4 separate regions of the Homo sapiens genome follow, and regions 1, 2 and 3 are each linked to region 4. Evidence: promoter capture Hi-C in human tissues and cell types (Jung and others, 2019). All regions are on one chromosome and are shown on one strand. The core of a region is centred on a gene start or on the middle of the fragment in contact, and the rest is flanking DNA. Distances in the headings are between cores, read along the strand shown. Region 1 overlaps LOC101927026 (a long non-coding RNA gene). Region 2 overlaps LOC101927026 (a long non-coding RNA gene). Region 3 overlaps LOC101927026 (a long non-coding RNA gene). Region 4 holds the start of GRIN2A (glutamate ionotropic receptor NMDA type subunit 2A).

Region 1 (6,076 bases), core at 2,913-5,412, 710 kb after region 4:
CTGACATACTCTTTTCCAAAGTGGTCGTACCATTAGAAAGTTCCTGTTGTTTCATACCCTCAACAACACTTGACATAGTCATTCTTTTTAATTTTAGACATCTTAAGTCATAAGGCATAAGTCTCATGTCATAAGTCTGAAGTCATAAGATGTAAGTCTTATGTCATAAGTCTTAATCATAAGATTTTTCTCCTATGTTTTCTTCTTACAGATTTAAGCATTTATATTTAGGTCTGTGATACATTGTAAATGAAATTTCGTGTATAGTGTAAAGCAGAGACCAAGGCTCACATTTTCCTCTCTAAATATCCTCTTTTTCTATCACCATTTGTTAAAAAAACACCCCATTTATCCAAGTGAATTCTTAAAGTCTTTGTCTAAAATGAGTTGATCATATGTGTGGGTTATTTCTAGACTCTGTCTTTACACCGATACTACACTGTCTTGATACTGTAGCTTTATTTCAAAACTTTTACAGTCTTGATATGGTAGCTTTGAAATTGAGTAGTGCAGTTTCCCTAATTTCTCTCTTGTTTTTCAAATGGTTTTGGCTATTCTACATCTTTTGTACTCTACAAAGCCTGCTTGGGTTTTGACTGGGATTATGACTATAGGTAAGTTTGGAGAGAACAATACAATAACAATGTTATTAGTTATCTACTGCTACATAAAAAAAAATCTCCAAACACAAAATGACAGCATTTAGTATCTCAGAAGATTATCTGTGGGTCAGTAACATGGACATGACTTAGCTAGGTCTTCCAGCTCAGGGTCTCACTCAAGGATGCAATTAGGTGGCCTAGACTGCAGTCATCTGAGGGTTTGACTGGATCCATTTCCAAGCTCACTCAGTGGTTATTGGCAGGATTTAGTTCCTCACAGGTTGTTGAACTGACAGTCTCACCCTTATTGGTTGTGAGCTGGAGGCTACCCTCAAATCCTTGCTATGTGGATCCTTCCATAAGGAAGCTTACACCATGGCAGCTGGCCTCATCAAAGTAAGCAAGAGAGAGTTAGAAGAAGACAGTAGTCAGTCTTCTAGAACCTAATCTCAGAAGAATCATTCTATCATCTTTGCCATATTCTATTCATTAGAGGCAAGTCACTAGACTCAGCACATACTAAAGGGAGAGGATTACGTAAGACGTGAATACCAGGAGATGCTGATCATTGGAAGCCATATTAGAGGTCTACCTACCACAATCATATTGAATATGCCAATCCAAGAACATGGTATCTCTCTCAATCTCCCCTCTTTTTCCTTTTCAATTGCTCTTAGCAATGTTAATTGGTTTTACTATTAAAGTTTTGCATATCTTTCATTAAATTCATTCCTAAATATTTTATTTTTGATCTTCTTCTAAATGATATTTAAATTTCATTTTTTAGTTCCTTATGATCAACAAATTTAAACACAAGTGATTTTTATATTGACCTTGAATTTTTTGACTTTGCTAATTTCATTTATTATGTCTAGAATTTTATGTAGAATTTTCTATGTAGACAATCATGTCATCTGAAAATAGAGAAAAATTTTACTATGCCTTTCAAATTTCCATACCTTTGTTCTTACTTTTGATGCCTTGTTGCACTAACTAGTTCCCCCATCTAGCAAAAAATTTAATAGTGGTAAGATATTCTTGCCTTGTTTCTAATATTGTGGAGGGTGGGGGCAAAAGCATTCACTAAACAGTATGTTAACTGTACAGCTTTTATAGATGCTGCTTATCAAATAGAAGATGTTCCCTTCTGTTTCAATTTCCTAAGAGTTTTTCATCACAAATGGGTTTCCAATCTGTTATCAAATCCATTTAGTGAATTTTTAATTTAAATTACAATACTTTTCAATTCATAATTTTCATGTTTTTTATGTAATTTCCATTTTTTGTTGATATTCCTTATCTGTTTACCCAGAAGGGCCATATTTCCCTTTAAGTTCTTGAATATATCTAATTAGATGCTTTATATTCATAATAGCCAAGTATGAAACAACTAAATGTCCATCAGTGGACAAATGGATAAAGAAACTTATTTCATGATGAAATACTAGTTAGCTTTAAAAACAAGGAGAGCCTGCCATTTGCACAACATGGATAAACCTGAAGAACATTATGCTAAGTGAAATAAACCAGGCACAGAAAGAAAAATATTATAAAATTATTTTTTCTAAAGTCAAATATATAGAGGTAGAGATTAAAATATTGATTACCAGGGACAAGAAAAAGGAGTAGTGAAGAAATAAGGAAATGTAAGTCAGCTGATATGAGATAGTACATATATAGGACTAAGAAGTCTGAAGGTCTAATGTACAACATGAAGACTATAGGTAATAAAATTGTACTGTATTTGGAATTTCTGCTAAATAAGTAGATTTTAGTTGTTTTTGCAACAAAAAACAAAAAAAAGATAATTTGTGAGATGATGGATATGTTAATTTGTTTCACTATAACAGCCATTTTATTATCTGTATGTTACCCATAGCATTATATTGTATACGTTAAATATACACAATAAAATTTATTTTAAATAAATTTAAAAATCAACCAATAAGTTGATGCTTTATATTCTTTTTCATAATATCCATCATCTTGGTATTGATTTCTATAAACTCACTTTTGTTCTTGACAATGAATGGTTAACATTTTCCTGACTCTTTGCATGTCTAGTGATTTTTTAGTGTATACTGGACATCAATAAAGGAACATTATAGAGACTCTGGGTTCTTTCACTCTAAAGAATGTTGATTTTTATTCTCTAAGGAGGATCAGTTACTGAGGAATCACCTTTAACATGTGTAGTCTTGGCATTATGCTTTGTTAAAGTAGATCTATAGAATCCCCAAGGTTTTTCCTAAGCCCCTCAAACTCCAAATGTTGATGTCTCTGCAGATTTTGCCAGGCTAGATTTTAAGCTTTGTTAGAGAAGATCCAGAGAAGACCTTGCTCTATAATATATTCCCACATCATAGGAGTATTTTTCCTGGTTTCTCATCTGGATGACCAACATGTTAACAAGGTTTCTCAACTGTGGGTAGACCACAACTCTCACATCTCCTAGTACTCATTAACCTGCAGTATTATCTTCTGTCAGCCCATGACAGTGACTCACTGGTAAGTCTTGCATAATTTTGCTCTGCACATGTGCATCCCTCAGCCAAGGAATCCTTTAGAATCCCTACAGAGACTTACTGAGATTTCTCTGTTCAGCTCCCTCCTTTCCAGTGCCCTGCCTTATAGCTTCCAGCCACTTCAGCAGTCCTGATCTCTGATCTCTGCCTCATCAGATCAGTAGCACTGCTACTTCCTACCCAGGCTCCAACTCTCTGCACCGTGATCCAAAGATTGTCCCAGCCAATACCACACTGATGTGGGTCTTACTTCATGAGTTTCCCACACTCCAGGATCACAGTCTTGGGCTGCTTACTACCCAGTGACTAGAAGCATAAATTTTGTTTAGTTTTATACTTTTTTAAAGCAGGGAGGCTAACCCAAAGCCAGCTGCTTTGTCAAGGCTGGAAGTGGTATGATTTCTGGCATTTTGATTTGGGGGAAGGACGGTCCTCTTCATAAAGAACCCACTTCCTCTCATTCCAAGTTGCTTTGAGCAGTAGCATTGTGGGTCAAAAGCCCCCACTGTGCTTCTTCTGGTATCTGATTATGTCAGGGCATGTCCAGAGGGTCTGTGGGGTAGGCCACTTTAGGGCCTATACTCATCCTAACAGAAAAGAGCTCCTAAGAGAAGTGGTCCAGGGGTTGGTGAAGAGGAATGAGTCTCCATTACTCATATCTCCTTCCATTCCAGTAATGTGGACAGAGCTTAAAATCCTAGAAAGATTGAGAGAGTGCACAATAACCAAAAATTCCCATTTGCTGACATTTTTGAAGAAAGTTGATATCAATTGTAATAATAGTATTGGTTGAACACTAACTACATTCCAGCCATGGCTAAAGAGAACTCTCCATGAACTAACTTACGTAATTTATACAAAAGCCTAATGACAAATGTTCTGTAACTATCCTGATATTTTAGATGAGCTTAACCAACGTGCTAAGAAAATAAGTACCTTCCCCATGGTAAACCAGCTTAACTAGTAAAAATGGAACCTTGCACCTTTGACGATCATTCTACCCTCCCACTCAGTACGATGTATACCAAGCAATCTGAGATGTATTATCTCTTTTAATTTTCTTAACTACTCAGTAAGGCCAGTAATTTACAGATGAGAAAGCTGAGGCTCAGAAAGGGATAATTACTTTACCCAAAGTCCTTTACCTGATGAGTAGGAGCTCTGAGCTTTGAACCCGGTTTTATCTGATTCCAATCCAATGCTCTTTCTCTGGCCTCCCATGGAAAAAGTCCAGGAGTCCCCAGGGAATTCAGTGAAAAGAGAAAAAACATTTCATGGCTATTTTGTCCATCAACATCTGGCATTGATGGTCTCAACCAGGGACATATCTCAGCAGCAGGAAGGGGAAAGAAGTGGATAAGAAGTGCTTGGGCTTGGGTGAGGGTGTAGATGAATGGGGGTCCTACAAGGGTAGATCCCACACCGACAGGGAAATATTGTTTGTGCCTGGTGTTGAGACCTATTCTTATCACTATACTGAATTGGCCTGAGGGGGAAAAATTGTTACCCCTTTTATTTCACAAACTGCTTTGGAAAGTAGAAAAGTTTAGTGTTGGCAATTTTGGTCTCTCCTCAGCATGAGCTGTTTCCAATTGGGTTTGTAATAAGATAAATGATAAAGGTGCTGGCCCACAGGAAAAGAGGAAGGCTAGCATTCTGATCAGGGAAGTTTGCTTACACCAGTAATCAAACACGGTCTGAGTATGCGTCAGAGAAAGAGACGCAACATGAATCAATCTGAACCTAAAATGACTTCCCAAAAGAAGATTCCCCTGATAAGTAAGCAAGCCTCATAGAAAACAACAGCACAGTTACTTGCCTTTCTATTCCATTGCAACTGTACTACTTACTAGCTGTGGGTCCTTAGGCAGGTTATTTCACTTTTCCAAGCCTCAATTTTGTCATTTATAAAAATGAAAATAATAATGGCACTAATAAGACAGTATCTGTCAAATAAACCAGTGGCTTTAATGCTGAAGGGAGATCTTCTGAAGCAATTAACACTTGAACAAGACCTGAAGGATGAGACCAGGACAGACATACAAAAATCACATAAAAGAATATCCCAGGAAGGGTCAGGAAGCATCAGCGGAACAGCAAGTGCAGAGGTCCTAGGGCAGGAAAGGATGTATGTGCTCAAGAAAGAGAAGGACAGTGTTGCTGAAACACAGAAAGCAGGAAAAAGGGAGAGAAAATCAGCTGAAAGCAGGGTCAGATCATGTAGGAATTTTAGGAGATGGTAAAAACGTTGTGTTTTATTCCAAGTGTAAAGGATGGTTTTTAGAGGATTTTAAAGTGAGAGAATAACATAACTTGGCTCATCCCAGACTAGCCATGGACGAATTGGATCTACAATGCTTACTAAAGTAACGAGTGCGGCTGCTGGAGGTGGAAATGCACAAAGTAAAAACTCAGTAAGTCGTAGCTGTCATGCCTCTCATGGTTGTAGCCATATGGCCTTGTCCTGAGCAAAAGACACTGCTAAAAGGGCTCACTTCCCTGAAGCCAGAGGAAAGTTCTAACCAGGCCACCAACACCACCCCCCCAGGCCTGGGACAGCTGACTCAGGAGCAGAGCGATTTGATCCAGCTGAGCTTATTAAAACTTCCCAGCTTGCTGATGTGGTTATGAAGGTTAGTGAGGAGGGAGCATCCTTACCTGGCTTTAGGGCATTACCTGCTGCTGGGGCTGCGCCTGGACTCCTGCCCTCAAGAGGAGGAGGAAATGATGTTTCTCTGCCTGTGCTCACTTGGCTGTTTTTATTGCTGAGACAGGCCCTTCAGGTAGCTACAAATGAGGGCAGGGACCATGGATGCAATCTGCCCACTCCCTGAGTCATAGAATCTTCCAGGGTCTGTGCTAGGAGGGACCTTCCCCTCATCTAATTATAATGCCAGAAATAAGCTACTGTTTGTTAAGCACCTACTATGCTCTAGGCATAAGACAGTT
Region 2 (6,155 bases), core at 3,058-5,557, 670 kb after region 4:
CACTCAATAAATGTTAGCTGTTACCAATAGAATTATTACTAATTTGAATACATTAAAACATGCCAGTGATCTACATTGCTCTCCATTGTCCTTATGGTTAGGCAAAAGAAAAGTGCCTTGGCCTCGCATAGCAGACCCTCTCAAGAGATTTTAGACACATTGTCCCTCACCACTAACCTTCTGGTAATATTGAATTGCTAATGGTTCCCCACATTTAGTGTGCCCCTTTTTGCCTCGAAACTGTACATAATATTAATCCTTCTGTTCCCACTCTCTCCCTATTTCTCTCTGTCGGTGATCTTCTACTGAACTTTAAAATGGCAATTCAGATGCTCCTCTCCTCCAAGAAGCCTTATGTCCCTGCTAGTTCTTCCTCCCTTCCTCCATAGAATCAATAGTCCTCTCCCTTATTATAGCTCCATATTTTGTCTTCACTTGCATTTTTAAACATACTACATTGTGTTGAAATTTATCATATTTTATTTAAAAATGAATAACCCATCCTGTCAACATAGGTTCTGAATTTGTGGGTTTTGAACACATGCACTTTTACAGTATGTGTTTGTATCAGTTAGCTATTGCTGTGTAACAAGCCATCCTGAACTCAGTAATTTAAAATAACAATCATTTATTCTCACTCATGTTTCTGTTAGGTTGGATGGGAGTTAGCTAAGCTCAGCCGAGCAGCTTGTATTCCAGCCTGGGACCAGCTGGGCTTGGCTGCTCACTGTAGGTTTGGTGCAAATCTGCTCCAGGTGTGTCCATTCTGGAGCCCAAGTGGAAGGTCCAGCAGTGACTGAAAGGAAGCGCCTCTTCCAAATGCATTTCAAGCTTCTCTGCTTACATCATTACGGCTACGATCTCATTGGCCAAGCCACATGCTGAGTCCAAAGTCAAGAAGCAGAAAAGTGCACATAGCCTATCATGATGTCAGCAAGCCACATGGTCAAACTCAACATTGGTCCCATCAGTCTAGTGAGCAGCGAGCATGAAGGTGGGAGGGAGAGAGTGGATACTTTTAAGCAGTAATTGATCCACCATGATAATTCTCAAATCTTTCTATGATTCATTTTGCTTGTCAAGTGTGTTAGTCTGTATTTACACACCTGCATTTCCATGCTCAAATAGCCTTAATAATGAATGCATTGTAATGATATTCTGAACTCTAACAGGGAATTAAATTTTCCCTTTTCAGTCCCTATTACATTTGTGGGTGTATATGAAATTATTTAGCACTCTGTATTGTAATTCTCCATGTGTGTCTCTTTCAATAGTGTAACATTACTTAATGGTGTGACAGATACTATGGTTATCTGACCTAGCACTCATTCTCATCCCCTTCTTTTCTGCTCATTTACACTATAAACGACACAGATGACAAATGTTCTCCCCCGCAGCTTCCATTGCAGCTAGGAGTGACCACATAACACAGCTCAGCTACTGAGGCACAAGCAGAAATCTACAAAGAGGTCTCAAGAAAGTCTTTTCTCTCTTAACAAAACAGTATTCCTCCATTGGCCCTACCCCTTCTCTCCTTCTTCTTACCTTTAACGTGGATGTGATTAGGTTGACAAGCATGAAAGAAATACAGAGAGAACCATGAAAATGCTGGTTGACATCTTTGGTCCACCGAACCAACACCAGTATCTGCCTATCAAGACTTCATGTAGTAAGATTTTCCATGAGGTATAGCCAGAGACACTCCCAACTGTGCAATTCGCTAGGACAGGGGTTGACACAAACTACAGTGAACAGGACAAATCTAGCCTACCACCTGCTTTTATAAATCAAGTTTTACTGAAATACAGCCATGCTCATTTCTTTATTGTTTAAGGCTGCTTTTCTCCTGCAATGGCAGAGTGAAGTAGTTGTAACAGAAAACTTTGGGTACACAAAGCCTACAATATTTGCTCTCTGACCCTTTATAGAAAGTTTGCCAACCTCCTAAGACAAATGTTGCACCTTATTTCTGTTTTTCATCCCTCAATGTCTAGCACAGGGCTGGTATACCATAGACAAGCAATAGTTGTTTGATATAATAGCAATAGCATTAGATGTCATTTATTGAGCACTAACTCTTTGTTAGGAGCCATGCTAAACACTTCTCATTTTTTATCTTATTTCGTCTTCACAACATCCAGGTTGACTGAAATGACTGCTTTCCCCACTCTACAAAGGTGGAGACTAAGGCTTAGAATTGTTAAATAATTCGCCCAAGGTCATAAAGCCAGTGAAGGGCAGAGCCAGCCCTCCAATGCAGATTTGGCAGACTTCGAAGAAAATGCTCTTAACCTCCAGGCTCTTTGCCCTCCCAGCTGTCCAGCTGAATTTGATCAGAGACCATCTTTCATGAGGGAGGACGGTGGCTTTTGTCCTCTTCCTCACACCGCCCTTTGTAGGCCAGGTTTATGAACAATCTTTTTTTCCTTGGGAGACTTCATCATACCTGACTGGAAAAAAGAACCTCTCGGCAAAACAATGACTCTAAATCACTGAAACGGGGGATTTTACAACCACCAAATAAACAGAAGATGTTGTAAATTTTCCCTTGTGTGCTAGCCAAGTAGTTACGCATCTGTCAGGTCTTCTCAGTGGTCATTCTTTCCCTCTGCCTACACCAAGACATGCTCAGACAAAGAGAACTGTGCATCTTGCCTATCAACTACCCCTAAACTTGAGATAGGTATCTTGCCTTATCTTCTGTTGTTGAAAAATATCTTTCTTGCTCATTGTCAATGCCCTCCCAGAACAACTTAGCTTTTAGAAAAAGACAAACATGTCCCCTTGTGCATCTCAGAGTCCTCCTGCCCAGATGTTCAAAGTGATTGTACACAAATCATTCAGCTGTCTCTGAGGGTGGGATCAGAAAGAGCTGGGTGGGCATTGATCACACCAGAGTCTCTTCAACAGCTTGATTCAAGGGTCTTGCCAGAAGACGAGGGACACTTTCAGATTGAGTTAAACATAGTTGGTGGAAATCCCATGGATTTCTCTTAGTAGAAAATCAGTCTGTGATTTAACTTGAACTTTTTTTTTTTTTTTTTTGAGACGGAGTTTCACGCTTATTGCTTAGACATGAGTACAATGGAGTGATCTTGGATCACTGCAACCTCCACCTCCTCGTTAACTGGAACTTCTGTTCAATTCATCAATGAGCACATTCTAGAGAAGAGGGAAATAATTAACACTCATTGAGTGCCTACTAAACACCCCAAACACTACGTGCTTCATGCCATGGTAGAATATTTTATGCACCATGTGTCAGCCCTCTTCTAGGTACTGTGCACATACTATCTCATTTAACTCTAACAGCGATCTTGTAGAGTAGGTGCCATTTTTTATATGAGAAAAAATGGGGCATAGACAGTGTATCAGTTATCTATTCCGAGTAACAAACACCCCCAGACTATAGTGGCTCAAAACAAATCAAGCATTTCCCCATTTCCCACCCCAGCCTCCTAGCCTCTGGCAATCACTGTTCCTCTCTCTAAGGGCACAAATTTCAGTTAGACAGGAGGAATACGTTTTAAAGATCTATTGCACAACATGGTGACTATAGTTAATAATAATGTATTGTATATTTCAAAATTGTGAAAAGAGTAGATTTAAAATGTTCTCACCACAAAAAAAATGGATAAGTATGAGGTGGTGGATATGTTAATTAGCTTAAGTATTCCATAATGTATACACATATCAAAATATCACATTATACCCCATAAATATATACAATTACTTTTTGTCAATTAAAATAACATTTTAAAGAATCAAGCATTTATTTAACTCATGATTCTGTGAATCCATTGAGGGTTTTTCCTGATCTGGGGCCAGCTCAGCTGATCTCAGTCAGGCTCTCTCATGCAACTGTGTTCAGCTTGTGGATAGGCTGTTGGCTCAAGGACAAGACACCTGTCTCTCTCCACCTCCAGCCAGCTCACCTGAGCTTCTTCACATGGCAGTAGGGTCCCAAAGCAGCAAGGGGACAAGTGCACAGCACCTCTCCAGTCTCCATTGCATCACATTTGCCATTGTCCCATTGGCAAAGCAAGTCACATGACTCATTCCATAGACATTGCAGAAAAGTACTTTCCAGGAGTGTGGGCAGAGAGAAGTCTGGATGTATTGAGGCCATTACTGCAGCAATCCACCACAGAGAAGTGATGTCACCTCTCTAAGATCCCACGGCTAATAAGTGGTGGGGGTAGAATTTCAACCCAGATAGTCTGACTCCAGAACCCACATCTGTAAGGACTGTGTTACTCAAAAATACACGATTTCATTCCATTCTTAGATACCTTGGAGAGAAGGTATTACTAGCCCTATTTTAGATTTAAAACACAAAAAGCAGAGACTCAGTATTGTTAGATAATCTGCCTGAGATCATAAGGCAAGAAAACAGGAAACATCTGACTCACTTTTATAAGTTATTGTTTCCTTCCATTTTTACACATACACACGTCCACAAACACACTGCATCTGGCCCTGGGTGAGGGTCATCTTCAGAACCAAACAGTTTAAATACCCACAGTGAAAGTCACCTATTAAATCTTGGATCACATTATATCAAAGTACTATATCTTACTCCTACTCACTTGACATTACGGCTACTTGGGTTTTTAGACGAAAATTATGCAAGGTATCTTTAGATGATGTAACTTATGAGTATTTCCTCATGCCATTTTGTATCCTCCAAATTAATATTATTTGTTCTTACGATGGCCCCATGATGAATTTACTCATTCCCCTATGGCCAAAAAATTTACTCATTCTCCTATGGTCAAAAAATTTACTTATTCCCCTATGGTCAACCTTTTGCTATTACAAATGACCCTGTGATTAATATTCCCTATATAAAACTGTATCACCCATTTGTGACCATATTCCCAGCAGTGGCATCATTGGGTCATAAGCATGAACATTTCAAGTCTCTTGATACACACTGCAAATTGTCCCTCCAGAAAAGATGTACCAGTGCTTGCATACCAGCTACCCATGAAAGTGAGACTCCTTGTATCTCAGCCTCACCAGGACTGAGTATTAACAAGCATGGATGGGTCCATTGGATTATTCCCCATGTGTAACGGGATCAGGCTCTGATAGACTGACTGCATCCATTTGCACACCATAAGAGCCTTCCCACAGGGCCCTAATACTCAAAGTCCATCAACAAAGACACACTCTACCCTGAATTAGCAGTGCTACAATTTATTATCTCTCGGACACTCTTTATTTCACATGTTTCTTCCTGACCAGTGCTTCTTTTTATAGACCACATTGTCTTTAGCTATGAACAACTACAACTAAGTCTCTCTCAGCCTAGGAACTTGAGCTCATTTGTTTTTTCTATCTTAACCCTGACCCATTGTGTATTAATTTCATGGTTTGCTGACTCTTTTCTAATATCCAGGCTAGTTGTTGGGAGGGGTGAGAAAGTCACCTTGTTTTCATCACCACGTACTGTCTACAACACACGTGTTCCCATTTGATCCTCATCTGAGCCATATAAAGTGGACAAAGACAGAGAGGAGAACTAAAACTCACTGAGGTTAAATGGTTCTTAGTAGTTCAGAGCTACTAGTGAGCAATGCCAGAACTTGAGCCTCGCATTGTTCTTTCTACGTGATCTTGCAAGGGGAAGAAATTGGGCCCAAAGCCACCAATTTAAAAGCTCATGTAATCAATAAGTCATGAGGTCCTGGGGATTTGAGTGAGGGATACAATTACAAGAAAGAAGAGGAAGGGATTGAATCTAAAAGTCTTGTGAAAGAAGAATGCCCACTAGGAGAAGCCTACCTGTTTTTGGAAAATGTATTTCAAATGGAAAGTGAAATCAAAATACAGAAGAAAGGAGAAAATGAAGAGTGATAAGTGTCTTCAAATTTCCAGATCCAGTTGTCCCTAAAGCCAATTACTCTACCTCTGCTATCCCTAGTCACTTAAGCTAAGAAAGCCCCCATTGCTTTGCCTATGCTGGCTGGAGTGGAGTTTCTGCCACTTGCAACAGAGAGGGCTAAGTTGTGCATCCACACCACCACTCCAGAGCCATATACAGAAATGCATGCAGGAAAAAAAAATGGCAATCTTTGAACTGGAGTTAACTGCATTAGTATCCAAGACCTTACCATCAGCTCAATCTGCTCTCCTTCCATCTCCCAACT
Region 3 (6,130 bases), core at 2,152-4,651, 690 kb after region 4:
GAACTTGCAGTCAGGTGGATATGAGCCTGAATCTCAGCTCTTTCCTAGCTCCGTGACCTTAAGCAAGTACCAGCCATGTGCCAGATACATCTTGAAGCTAGCTTTAGGCTCCTCTTCTGTAACCTGAGATAAATAATTCAGGGTGACTCTGAGAAGTAAATGTAGAATGCGTGGATCCTATAGTGGCATCCTGGCTCACCACTAATATTCAAAAGATGATAGTTAATGTTGAAATTGTCCCTATATACTGCATAAAAGTCTATCAGTAAAGAAGAAAGGGAGAAAAACAAAAACAAACCAAGTTTGCAGTACACGCAGCATTCATCATTAGGTCAGCTTGCTCGCTCATAGCTGTTTGGTGTCTATTGTTTTAGAATCATGCGCACCCTCTTATAAGATTATAGTTCCCCTTAACTGCTCTAGAGATAATAACTTGAACATTATAAAATATTCAGTTTTTCAATTGAGATATTCTTTTAGGTCCTACATATCAGTGAAACTATTGACATCATCTGGTCTGAAGGCCTCCATGAGAAACTGACTCATCAAGAAATGCGGTTTCCAAGTCCTGATGATTTCATACTCCTTACCCCAACCAACCAATGACCCAAATTTCCAGCCCCTTGCCCTCCATGATCCCCTTAAAAACCCTAGCCCAGAACTCCTTGGGGAGATGGATTTCAGAGTCTCCTCCAATTTCCTCACTCAGTGCCTTTCTCTGCTGTAAACCCTGCTGTGTCACTGTATTGGTCTGTTAAATTGCAGTGAGGATATGCATCTGTTGGTCCTATAACAATATTGTCAACAGTGACGATGATGACAGTGATGATGATTACAGCTCAAGTCTTGTCCCATCTAGAACCTCTTCCTGACGTCTCTATCCCTGATCAATTTTTCTAACCTTTGGGGATAGCTCTGATGTAGTTCTCATCAATTACCTGTATCTATAGTTACCTATAATTATCTCATCAATGATCTATAGTTAAGTAGATAATTACCTGTTTTACTCAAGAGTAAGAACTGTGTTTCAATTAGCTTCTGTGTTTCATGTAATAGTGAAAGTACAAGATTTGCAGTGCAATTGTATTTCAGAGAAGTTCGATCATTTTCTTAAGGTTACATAGCTTATAACTGTAAGAGTTCACTAAGCTAAAATATAGGTCTGTGCTATTCCACAGCCCAAGCATTTTACTTCTACTTCACCTCTCCTCCCTAGTAGGTACTTATCTGTTAATTAAGCTTAGTGCTCTGCTCTTGGGACCCACTCGTTGTTGTTGTTGTCACCAATATTCTTGTTGTTGTTGTTTTTCCAAATTCCATGTTGATCTGTGTGATAAGGGTCTTTTGACTGATCACAGCTCAAATCAATGTCAAGTACACACAGAGGATGGATTCTTGCCCTTCTCTGAGCCCTAGCATTACAGATTCAGTGTAGCAGGACTGAACCAGAAACTGTTTGGCAATGCCTAATCTGTTGCATTTGGCACCAAAGATGATGGTGGATAAAACTCTTGATGGCATCATCCTTGCCTGGTTGCACGTAGTAAGGAATTAGAAGTCCCCTAGCGTTTGTGTCCAAGCTAATTTAGACTTGTTTTCCTTACTAAAACTCATGGAGGTTTGACCTACTCATATGATAGATGCACATGCCCTCCACAGTCTCCTTGCAAATAAGGATCGCCGTAAAGGATACCTAGAAAAACTGCTGCTCCTCCAGGGTCTGTGTACTCTGAGCATTTTGCCTTCAATGTGAGCCTAGGGTCAAGGGCTCTTGATATAGGTTGCTAGGATTCTAGTTCTAGTTTTACCACCTGCAAGCTGTGTGAACTTGAAATAGTTAATCTCTCTGTGCCCTTTTCCTTTATGTACATAATAAGGATTATATCCCTCAAACATAGCCTGTTGTAAGGAGTTAATGGGATGCCATGTGTAATATAGCTAACAGCCTTGGCTCCCAGGCAGTCAATGCTCCCCTGAGCTCATCACCAAGGGAAGGACCTTGAAAAATGTCACTAGGAAGGACCAAGAAAAATGTGCAACTCAGGTTGGCCTCTGTGAGGGTAAAAGAAACTCAGATGATCTCAGCCCTTCCATTTCTGCTTCCTTCCTTCACCTATCACGCACCCCTGAAAATTTTCATGCTGCCGTCACCACACTCCGGGAAAAACACACATGCTCTGGAGTCAGAGCTCTGAATTCAGAGACCTGTGTCTCCAAAGACTGGCTGTATCCCACTGCAAATTATTTCTTCCATTTCAGCGTTTCCACAGTGTGAATGATAATGTAAACTAAGTAAAACAAAAATGCCTTGCCATGAAAATCACAGAATCCATGCTGTTATTTTCTCAGATATTTTAGTCTTACATAAAGGAAGGGTTGTTTTTCTGTTGTTTTTGCAAAAGTCTTCTCTCTCCGTCTGTCTGTTTCTGCCTCTCTGTTTTTCTCTGTGTGCATGTCAACTATCTCAGACTCTTTCTACACACTTCTTTAAATTCTTTGTATTTTTCTCACTCTCCCATGTCTCACACTGTCTCTTTCTGTAAATCACTCTCTCTCTCTCTCTCTCTCCCTTTCTCTCTCTGTGTATGTGCGTGTCAATTCTCTCAACCTCTTTCTTTATAATTCTCTTACCCACTCTGACTCCCAACCATAGTCATTTAAAGTGTATCCTCTAAATTCATCTGCCTGAATTTGCAGACTGGCTCCATACTTGAAGAACTGTGTGAACTTGGGTAATTTATTTAGTCTCTCTGAGCTTGTTTTTACACTTTGAAAGTAAGGAAAATAACAAAGTTTCTACTGCACAGGGTCATCATGAAGAAGAAATACAATAATGCGGCCAGAGCCCCGACCATCATACCTGGCAAAGAGCATGCATTTAACAAATATTCGCTGTTGTGATTATCTGTTTCTCCTCTCTCCTTGATCCATTTATCCTTGTGTCTATTTCAGGTGCATTCTCTTCCTTTATCTTGCTCTGTTTTCTGGCTCTCTCCCTCTCTCCTTTCTTCCCTCCCTCCTTCTCTCTCCTCCTCCCTCTCTGAACAGAGATCCACTGCTGCTCATTTCCTAAATTTGTTTAGCCACATCAATCTCTTGGTCAGGTGCAGATGTCAAGCTGCCCACACACAAAATAAAAAGCTACACTTGTGGTGCCAAGGAGGTATGGGCGGCTTGGGAGCCCTTACCAAGTTTCTCAGGAGATGGCCCAGGGGTTCCATGACGACAGGGCCAGCGCTGGCAATGTTTTCCTATGCCATGGTAACCACCCACCGTGCGTCACTGCAAGACAAACGGTGCCTCTCAGTAAGCAGAGAGATTAACAGCGTAGAATGTGGAGTATGAGCTCTTCAAAGGGAGCAGAATGTTCAACTGTAATTCATCTGAACTCCCATTTTTAACTCAAAACACAAATTCAGTTGCCAATAGAAGTCTATAAAGAATTAATTAGGGAACTTCACAAACAGTCAAAACTCATAAATTTATCACTGACAAAAAGAATCATTTCCTCTGTCAGACGTGAAGTATGGTTGTCAGAAAACGGAAACAAAAAAGAAAAAAACACTCAAAGAAGCAGGCCTGCTGTCTCATTTCTTTTCTCTAATTTGAAGAGAGAAGATAGTTTAGCACTTGGAGGATTCAGAAACTGACAATGCTCCCAGACCCTAAGCTCCATGAGGCTAAAGGCGGCCATGTCTGCAGTGTTCATTGCCAGAACTCCATTCTGTGGCTTGGTGCCTGGTACAGACGAGGAGTTGAAAATATTTATTGAATTGACTAAAATTTAAAAGGAGGCAATGGGAAGGGATAAAATTGATGGTCCAGACTTCTGACATTAAATCTGGCTTCCCTCCATTGCTCTGTCCTACTTCCTGTGAAACAGGAAGTGACACAGTGGCATCATCCCCCTGTCTGAGAATTCCTGACTACTGTGACCCCATTATTACTCTAACAACCCCCATAGTAAGAGCATGGCTTTGGAACATCAACAGGCCCAGCTCTATCCTAACTTCTATTAGTCTCAGTTTTTTCATGTGTAAAATGAAGCTAATTCTTTCATTGACGTCACACAATTTATGGAGATTAAGTGATAAATGCATTTGAAGATAAATATTAGCTACTAGTATCATTACTATAAGGAGTAAAGAGGACCATATTAGTTTGCTAGGGCCGCCATAACAAAATACCTCAGAGTGGGTGGCTTAAACAACTGAAAATTATTTTCCAACAGTTTTGGAGGCTGGAAGTCCAAGATGAAGGTGTCCGCAGCATTGGTTTCATTAGGAGGTCTCTCTCCTTGGCTTCTGGATGGCCATCTTCTTGCTGTATCCTCACATGATCTTTCCTCCGTGCACACACACCCCTGGTGTATCTCTATGTCCAGATTTCCTCTTCTCATAAGGATGCTAGTCACATTGGATTAGAACCCACCCCAACAGCCATGATATTAACTTAATCGTCTCTTTAAAGACCCTATCTCCAAAAAGTTACATTCTGTAGTGCTGTGGGTTAGGGCTTCAACATATGAACTTTGCGGGGACAAAACCCAGCCCATAGCAGGGACCTTAAGTATAATCATACTTCTCAATAGTTTAAGAGAAAACAAAAATTTGCCTTCCGACTGGCACTGAGCTGAGTTCACCCTTGTAAATCCTCAAGCTAAAAAATATTTTTCAAATCTGACCTGCCAGCATGCAAAGATCTAGCCAGCATACCAGCGATATAGGACTAATGCATGCAGCACAGGACACCTCAGCCAAGGCTCTTGCCCTCTCTAGTCCTAATCTAGGAGGAATAGGTTGGACCATGGGGTCCCTAAGATTTCATCTGCTATAATTCTAGCTATATGATTGCTCAGATGCTGAAAGGATCTGCAAAGGCTTGTACAGAAAGTATGAGTTCATATAAAAAATAAGAGTGTTCCCACCTCTATATTGAAAGTTTAGCTTCTGGAGCTCTCCACTGTAGTAAGCATGTGGTAGAGGACACTAAACTTTGGGAGAAAAATGGGAAAAAGCTCAGGGAATCAAGGTTAGGAGCAAACTCATGAAGGGCTTTATCATAGTAACGCCTCCAGCTTGCCTGGCATCCAAAAGATGGGTCCAATTATTACCAGAAAGAAAACCTAACACTGAATCTTGACCACTCATGAAGTGCAGCAGGTAGTGCAAATAATTCCCTTCAAAATGCATTTCAACCTAATCAGGGTCCACCTCTGGGAGTCGTCCCTGGGAGTCGTCCCTGGGAGTCTTTCCTTTCTCCAGCCTCTTGCCTCTTTCTCCTCTCCTTACCCTCATACCCTTGGTATTTTCTATTTCTCTGCCAGGGTCTGGCTCTATCAATGAAGAAACTCCTTACAGCCCTTGGCTCCTGAACATCACCTCTGATTCCTTCCTCTTTTGTAGGAAAAAGCATCAAGCTCTTCACTTTCCTCGGGTGAGAGATGGCAGAGTGCAGTGGTTAAGACAGGCATTCTGGAGCCAGTCTCATTAGTTTTGAATTCCTGATCTCCCACCGATCAGCTGGATCTGTTACTGGGAAAGTTACTTAACCTCTCTATGCCTCCATTCGTTTATCTGTGAAGTGGGAATTGCAATTGTTTCTCCCTACTGGGGCTGTTAGGAGGGTTAAATGAGCTAACATGCATAAAGTGTGAGGACAGTGCCTGTACACAGTAGGTGCAACACATGTTAACTGCTTTTCCTGAGAGGTGAGCATTCATACTAGTGGCTGAGGTTGGGCAGAACAATTTACTGGGGTGCATAAAGAAAATATCTGTTATCATTATCTTTTTAATGTCTATTTTAATATGTGTTTTATAAGATACACAATATACAAACACAATAGTATGTGTTGACAACTTAAAAATAAGTAAACATATATATTGCGTGGAAATGTTCGAAAAATTCTAATTCAGTGCACAACCAAAAAAGTTTAGAGGCCATTGATCTATAGCCAACCAACCCTTACTTTTTAGAAAAAAAAATGTAATTTGCACAATAGTATTTTTCAGAACACACCCTTTTCCTGTTAATACTGACTTTTTCTCTGAGTGTAATGTAGTTGTCACTGTTCTACTAATGAAACCTCAGTCTCTTTATTCTGTCTTACTAAAGACTGCCAGTCTGCC
Region 4 (5,655 bases), core at 2,435-4,934:
AACCCTGAATACCAGTATTTTTCAAGAAAGACAAATCCAATTTCAGGGTCAGCATCAATTTATGAGAATAGCAAGTGCAGAGGCATCATCAGAATCCCCTATGGATCTAAAATAACTGTCCGTGCTTGGCCCCACACCTGGAGATCCTGATGGAGTAGATCTAGAGTGGGCATAGGCATCTGTGTTTTATTTTCTTTATTTATTTTTTTTGGGACAAAGTCTCACTCTGTCACTCAGGCTGGAGTGCAGCAGTGTGAACACTTGGGTTGTCATCATGTTGCCCCGGCTGGTTTCAAATTCCTGGGCTCTCATCATGTTGCCCAGGCTGGTTTCAAACTCCTGGGCTCAAGTGATCCTCCTGCCTTAGCCTCCCAAAGTTCTGGGAGTACAGGCGTGAGCCACTGCACCCAGCCACATCTGTATTTTAAAAAGTCCCATAGATAAAACCCACATATCCATTGCAGGAGACTGGATACACAAAGTGTGGCTTATCCATGCAATAGAGAGCTAGCTGCTCAACAATAAAAAATAAAAAAGCTGTTGATACATGCAACAACACAGAGGAATCTTCTAGACATCAGGGTAAGTGAAAAAAGCCAGTCACCAAAGAATACATAGTGTAAAATTCCACTTATATGAAGTTCAGAAAAGGGCAAAACTAATACATGGTATTAGAAATCAAAATTGTAGTTTACACTGAATGGGGGGAGTGGGATTGACAACAAAGGGACACAAGAAAACTTCCTGGTGGTGATGAAAATACTCTGTACCTCATTTTACGTGACGGTCTATGTGGATACACACAATCTCAAAAGTAACAAACTGGCTGGGTGCAGTGGCTCACACCTGTAATTTCAGCCTTTGGGAGGCCAAGGCCAGAGGATTTCGTAAAGACAAGAGTTTGAGACCAGCATGGACAACATAGCAACACCCAATGGCTACAAAAAATAAAAAATTTGCCAGATGTGGTGGCATGTGCTAACCACCACAAGTCCTAACTACTTGGGAAGCTGAGGCAGAAGGATCACTTGAGCCTAGGAGTTCAAGTTAATAGTGAGCTACGACCACACCACTGCACTCCAGCCAGGGCAAGAGTGAGACCCTGTCAAAAAAACAAAACAAAACAAAACAAACAAACAAAAAAATAAAAAAACACCAAAAAACCTTCACAAATGAAACCCTTGAGAGATATGCATTTTATTGTCTATAATTTATAACTCATTTAAATAAAATGGCCTAACTTCCCCTTTAGACCCCAAGCCAGAGTCTTGCATGGGTGCCAAGGAGTGGCCTAATCAGTTCAGCCCAGCCATAGACTCAAGAAAGGAAACATTTTCCTGTTCCCTGCCTTATATTATACAATCCCCCATTTTAATTTACTTTCCAGCATTTCCCTCACGCTTTCTCTGTCTTTTGGATTAAAAAAAAAACAAAAACAAAAACCCAGGAAACCCAGCATAGAACAACCAGCTCAATAATGAATCCATTTGTCTCCACACACTGTGCCCCTCTCCTGTCTCCATTTCAGCAGCCACATCCACATTCTTGGAAGAAGTTCCCCTGCTTCCAGGCTACTTCAAGGTGCATGATGTTGATTGAGCATCTACTATGTGCCAGACCTTGTTGACCCCTTTATTAAGGCTACTTCCTTTTCTTTTCAAAATAATCCTGAGAAGTAGATGTTTTTACTGCCCCCCATTTCCAGATTAGTGATCAATAAAGGGAAGTAATATAATGTCCAAAAGTGATATTTTAGTTTGATCCAGGTGCCATAGCAAAACATCATCAACAGCAGAAGTTTATTTCTCTCACTTCTTGAGGCTGGGAGGTCCAAGATGAAGCAGCAGCAGACTCAGTATTTGGGGAGGGCCTAGTTCCTGTTCATAGGCCGATGCCTTCTTGATTAAGTCTCACTTGGTGGAAGGACCTAGCTGACTCTCTGGCATCTCTTTTATAAGACCACAAATCCCATTTTACTCTCATGAAGCCATGAAGTCACCTCCTAAAGTCCCCACCTCCTAATACCATCACCTTGGGAGTTAGGATTTTATCCTATGAATTTGGGGGTGGGAACACACACATTTAGACCGCAGCAGGTGACATTAGGTTAAGTGGAGGAGGCAGGGTTGGAACAGTCATTGCAAAACCTCTTAGAATTTAAGACCCCTTTCCTTCCAAGGCCTGAAAGGCAGACAGGCGTTGGAGATACAGGTGAATATAAAAGGGGCAGAGCTCCTCCCTTGACCATGTATTTCATGCCCAGTCGCTAGAATTCAAGTCAACCAAGCCCTCACACACCCGGGCCGTCCCATGTTCTCTGGCTCACCTCTTCTGGTAGCTTAGAAGTGGCAGCCTCAGGGAGGCTTCTGTTTGGTAGAACTTAGAAGGAAGCATGTGGGAAATGCAGATGTCTTTGCTTTTAGGATTCTGGCTCCCTGAGATCAGAGGAGTGGGTTCCCGTACGGGGGTGGCGAGGCACAGGGAGAAGCATTGGAGCAGACTCTGTGTGTGTGTGTGTGTGTGTGTGTGTGTGTGTGTGTGTGTCGGCGCGCCTGTGCGTGGAGGGGGATAACTGTACCCAGCGCGAGGCACTGGGGGAGGAGGAAGCGGTAGCAGAGATCTGAATAATTGATTCTTCAGCCGCACCAGACGCCCGGGAGCGGGCGGAGAGCGTGGTTCCAACACCACGGACAGCAGCGCGCGCCGCCGCAGGCGCCCCCGTCGCCAGCCAGCCACCTATCCTGGCCTTATTTGCCGCCGTGCGCTCTCGGAACGGGTGGCCGCGCTCCGCGTCGCCGCCGAGGGACTGCGGGGTCTGTCTCGACCCACCTAGGAGAGAGGCTGCGGGCAGGAGACGCTTTCGCCCGCCGGAGCTCGAAGCCTCTTGGGCTTGAGCGGGGGCTACTGCGTCTCGCCGGCTGAGAACAAGTCCCTAAGTTGGTGTGGAGGGCGCCGCTACCTTCCTTCTCCTCTTCCTCGGAGGCGACCGCAGCAGAAAGACGCCCCGGGAACCCGGCTTTGCCAGTGCTGTGAACCAGGGTGTCCAGGCGCTCACCGGACTCCCGCTGGGAAGTGGGGAGCCGAACGCCCGGCGCGGAGCTGGCCCAGCAGCGAAGGGCCCGGAGGGAGCTGCCTTTCCCCGCCCGCGCCTCTCTCGGCCGGGGACCGCGGGGATCCCCGGCCACACGCGAGCGCGCTCCCACACTCACACACACACTCGCCCTCAAACACACCAGCCCGGAGCTGGGTTGCGGAGAGGGTGCTCCGGCGCGCTCAGAGGACCGGGCAGTTGCCGTCCGGAGTGGGGCAGGAAGCGGAGCTAGGGATCTTGGAGGGGAGCTCCTAGGGCTTGGCCGGATCATGGGACCGGGTGAGCGCTGAGAATCGCGGCCGCAGCCATCAGCCCTGGAGATGACCAGGAGCGGCCACTGCTGAGAACTATGTGGAGAGAGGCTGCGGTGAGTGCTAGCGCGGGACGCCGGGCCTGGGAGGCCCCCTTGGGAAGGGGGGAGGTGGGAGGCCTGAAGAGGGAGGAAGCGGCAGGATCACAAGAGGGTCGCTGCGTGGGAAAGATCCACCTCCCTCGGGGAACCGGGACCGCGGGAGCCCGCGTCCTTCCCTCCCCCTCTCCTACTGCTGGCTCGTCACAAACTCAGCCAGCGCCCCCCCACCCTCGTTACCTCCTCTTTCTCTCCCTACCTCCCTCGCTCAGCAGCTCCCGGTCGCACAACTCCCAGCAGCCGGCGCTGGGGAGGTGGTAGGGGGTGCGGGTGGAGGTGCCCAGTTAGCTTCTCGTGGGTGGCCAACCTGGGGCTCCCATTCTCCTGTGCACCCTGGAGTGGAGCTCCCGCTATCAGCCACAGGGGCTGAGGATCCGCACTGGGGGCGTCGTGGGCATCGGGCTTCAGCTTCCCCCCTCTTGTCTAGCCCCCCTGGGCGCATAGGGGGGCTTGTGAGCACTGCAGACTGCAGCCTTCCCCTCAACCCTCCCTCCCCTCGTTGGTGGGCTGACCCTGCCTCTCCTTCTCTCCTCCGCCCCGTTAGAGCCCTGCTGCAGAGCCTCCGGCTGGGATAGCCGCCCCCCGTGGGGGCGATGCGGACAGCGCGGGACAGCCAGGGGAGCGCGCTGGGGCCGCAGCATGCGGGAACCCGCTAAACCCGGTGGCTGCTGAGGCGGCCGAGATGCTCGTGCGCGCAGCGCGCCCCACTGCATCCTCGACCTTCTCGGGCTACAGGTACGTCCCAGAGGGAGATCAGGGCTCCTTGGGCCGGGGAGGAGGGAGACTCGACCGGAGGGAGAGCGGGAGAGGGATCAGGCTAGAGAGGGAGAGGGAAAGCGGGAGGGAGCCCAGCGGCGAAGTGCAGGAGGGGCACCAGGGGGCGCTGCGGCTCCGCGCTCCGCGGCGCTTACCCAGGAACGTCGAGGCCTCTTGGAGTTCGCCTCAACTTCCCCCGGCTCCAGCAGCGTCCGTCCCGAGAGGCGCGCGTCAGGGCACGCGTGCACGACCGTGCTGGTATTTGCAGGTACGCAGGGCTGTGCACCTGCCGCAGTTCATGCGTGTGCACCACCTGAGGACATGTGAGGACTCCGGCTGGCCGTGGGCACCGCTACAGCAGTCTGAGGAAGTGCGCAGAAAAGCGCGCGTGCCTATGAGCGTGTGCGGCCCACTGCCCACGTGCACCTAGGACTTGGCAACAGCGCCCGCAGTAGAAAGGCTAGGGAGGGGCTGTACAGTCCACGTCCGTCTGGGAGCTTCTTGGGAGCCTACCTTTCCCCCTACGCACGTTCTTTGCCAGCTCCTACGCGCTGGCCCGCGGGGGGACGCGCCTACTCTCCAGAATTCAGCATTGCACACGGCGCGCGTGAGAGAGGGTGTGTGTGTGTGAACATGTGTGTGTGCGTGTGTGTGTGCACGTGTGTGTGCACGCGCGCGTGTAGGGGTGAAGGACTCTCCACGGCCCCTTGGCTCGAGGTGGGGCGAGCCCCAAGTTCCCCAGGCACAGCGGAGCCTGGGCCCACCAGGCAGCGTCCTCACTCCCAAGCACTTGGGGTGTACTCTGACTGAGAGGAGCCGGGTCTGTAGTTGGGGCTGGGCGTAGAGCAAAGTGTGTGGTGCACACGACGGGCTCGTAGGGGGCGGGGTCAGCCAACTAGCTGAGCTCTCAAGCTGGGACGCGGGGTCTGGGTGCCGCCTCCGCACGCCCTGCGGGGTCTGTAGTTCGCTCCGCGCCAGCAGGGGGCGGGGTTGATAACTTGGTCCTCTCTATCCCAGGTGGGAGGGGTTGGATGGAGGGTTTATTCTGTGCACCTAGGAGCTTGGTGGGGTACAGAACACGCGCGGCGCTTAGGGTCTGTGGCCCGCGGCGAACTTGGGGAATGCGGTGGGGGATATGGACAGAGATGGGGATGGGGAAGTGCCTGGAGACAGGGGATGAGGAAGCTGGATGCGAGAAGGGGCTGGGGGATGGAGAATTAGCTCGAATTGGAGTTGTGGATAGAGTTAGAGATGGATCGAGGGATGTGGATGGCGTCGGGGACTCGGAATGGAGTCCGTGATCCCAGCAGCCTATCCTGCTGCTGAGTTCCATGCCTGGCTCCTAGAGCAGGAAGCCAAGTTGGTAATCCCTTTCTTCTGGTCGCCTTGCTCACCGCGG

The links. Contacts are between HindIII fragments. The study calls those that stand out against the background at their distance.
Region 1: a contact is called between a fragment that was not itself captured here and the fragment with the promoter of GRIN2A in region 4, in 1 of the 25 tissues and cell types used here (dorsolateral prefrontal cortex).
Region 2: a fragment that was not itself captured here is called in contact with the fragment with the promoter of GRIN2A in region 4 in 1 of the 25 tissues and cell types used here (lymphoblastoid cells).
Region 3: a contact is called between a fragment that was not itself captured here and the fragment with the promoter of GRIN2A in region 4, in 1 of the 25 tissues and cell types used here (dorsolateral prefrontal cortex).

Annotation. Positions count from the first base shown.
Region 1 is chr16:9,466,738-9,472,813 of GRCh38, reverse strand. LOC101927026 (a long non-coding RNA gene) reads right to left here. Exons shown (of 6, transcript NR_188390.1): 1 at 5,804-6,076. Among named protein-coding and RNA genes, the nearest start is that of LINC01195, 14 kb to the right of the region's middle. The HindIII fragment of the contact is 4,444 bases long and covers 1,941-6,076 here.
Region 2 is chr16:9,507,822-9,513,976 of GRCh38, reverse strand. All of the region lies in intron 3 of LOC101927026 (a long non-coding RNA gene), which reads right to left. Among named protein-coding and RNA genes, the nearest start is that of LINC01195, 55 kb to the right of the region's middle. The HindIII fragment of the contact is 8,339 bases long and covers 138-6,155 here.
Region 3 is chr16:9,487,156-9,493,285 of GRCh38, reverse strand. All of the region lies in intron 1 of LOC101927026 (a long non-coding RNA gene), which reads right to left. Among named protein-coding and RNA genes, the nearest start is that of LINC01195, 35 kb to the right of the region's middle. The HindIII fragment of the contact is 8,627 bases long and covers 1-6,130 here.
Region 4 is chr16:10,180,457-10,186,111 of GRCh38, reverse strand. GRIN2A (glutamate ionotropic receptor NMDA type subunit 2A) reads left to right here and starts at 3,684. Exons shown (of 13, transcript NM_001134407.3): 1 at 3,684-4,235. RefSeq lists silencers at 4,417-4,476, 4,487-4,596. The HindIII fragment of the contact is 17,773 bases long and covers 1-5,655 here.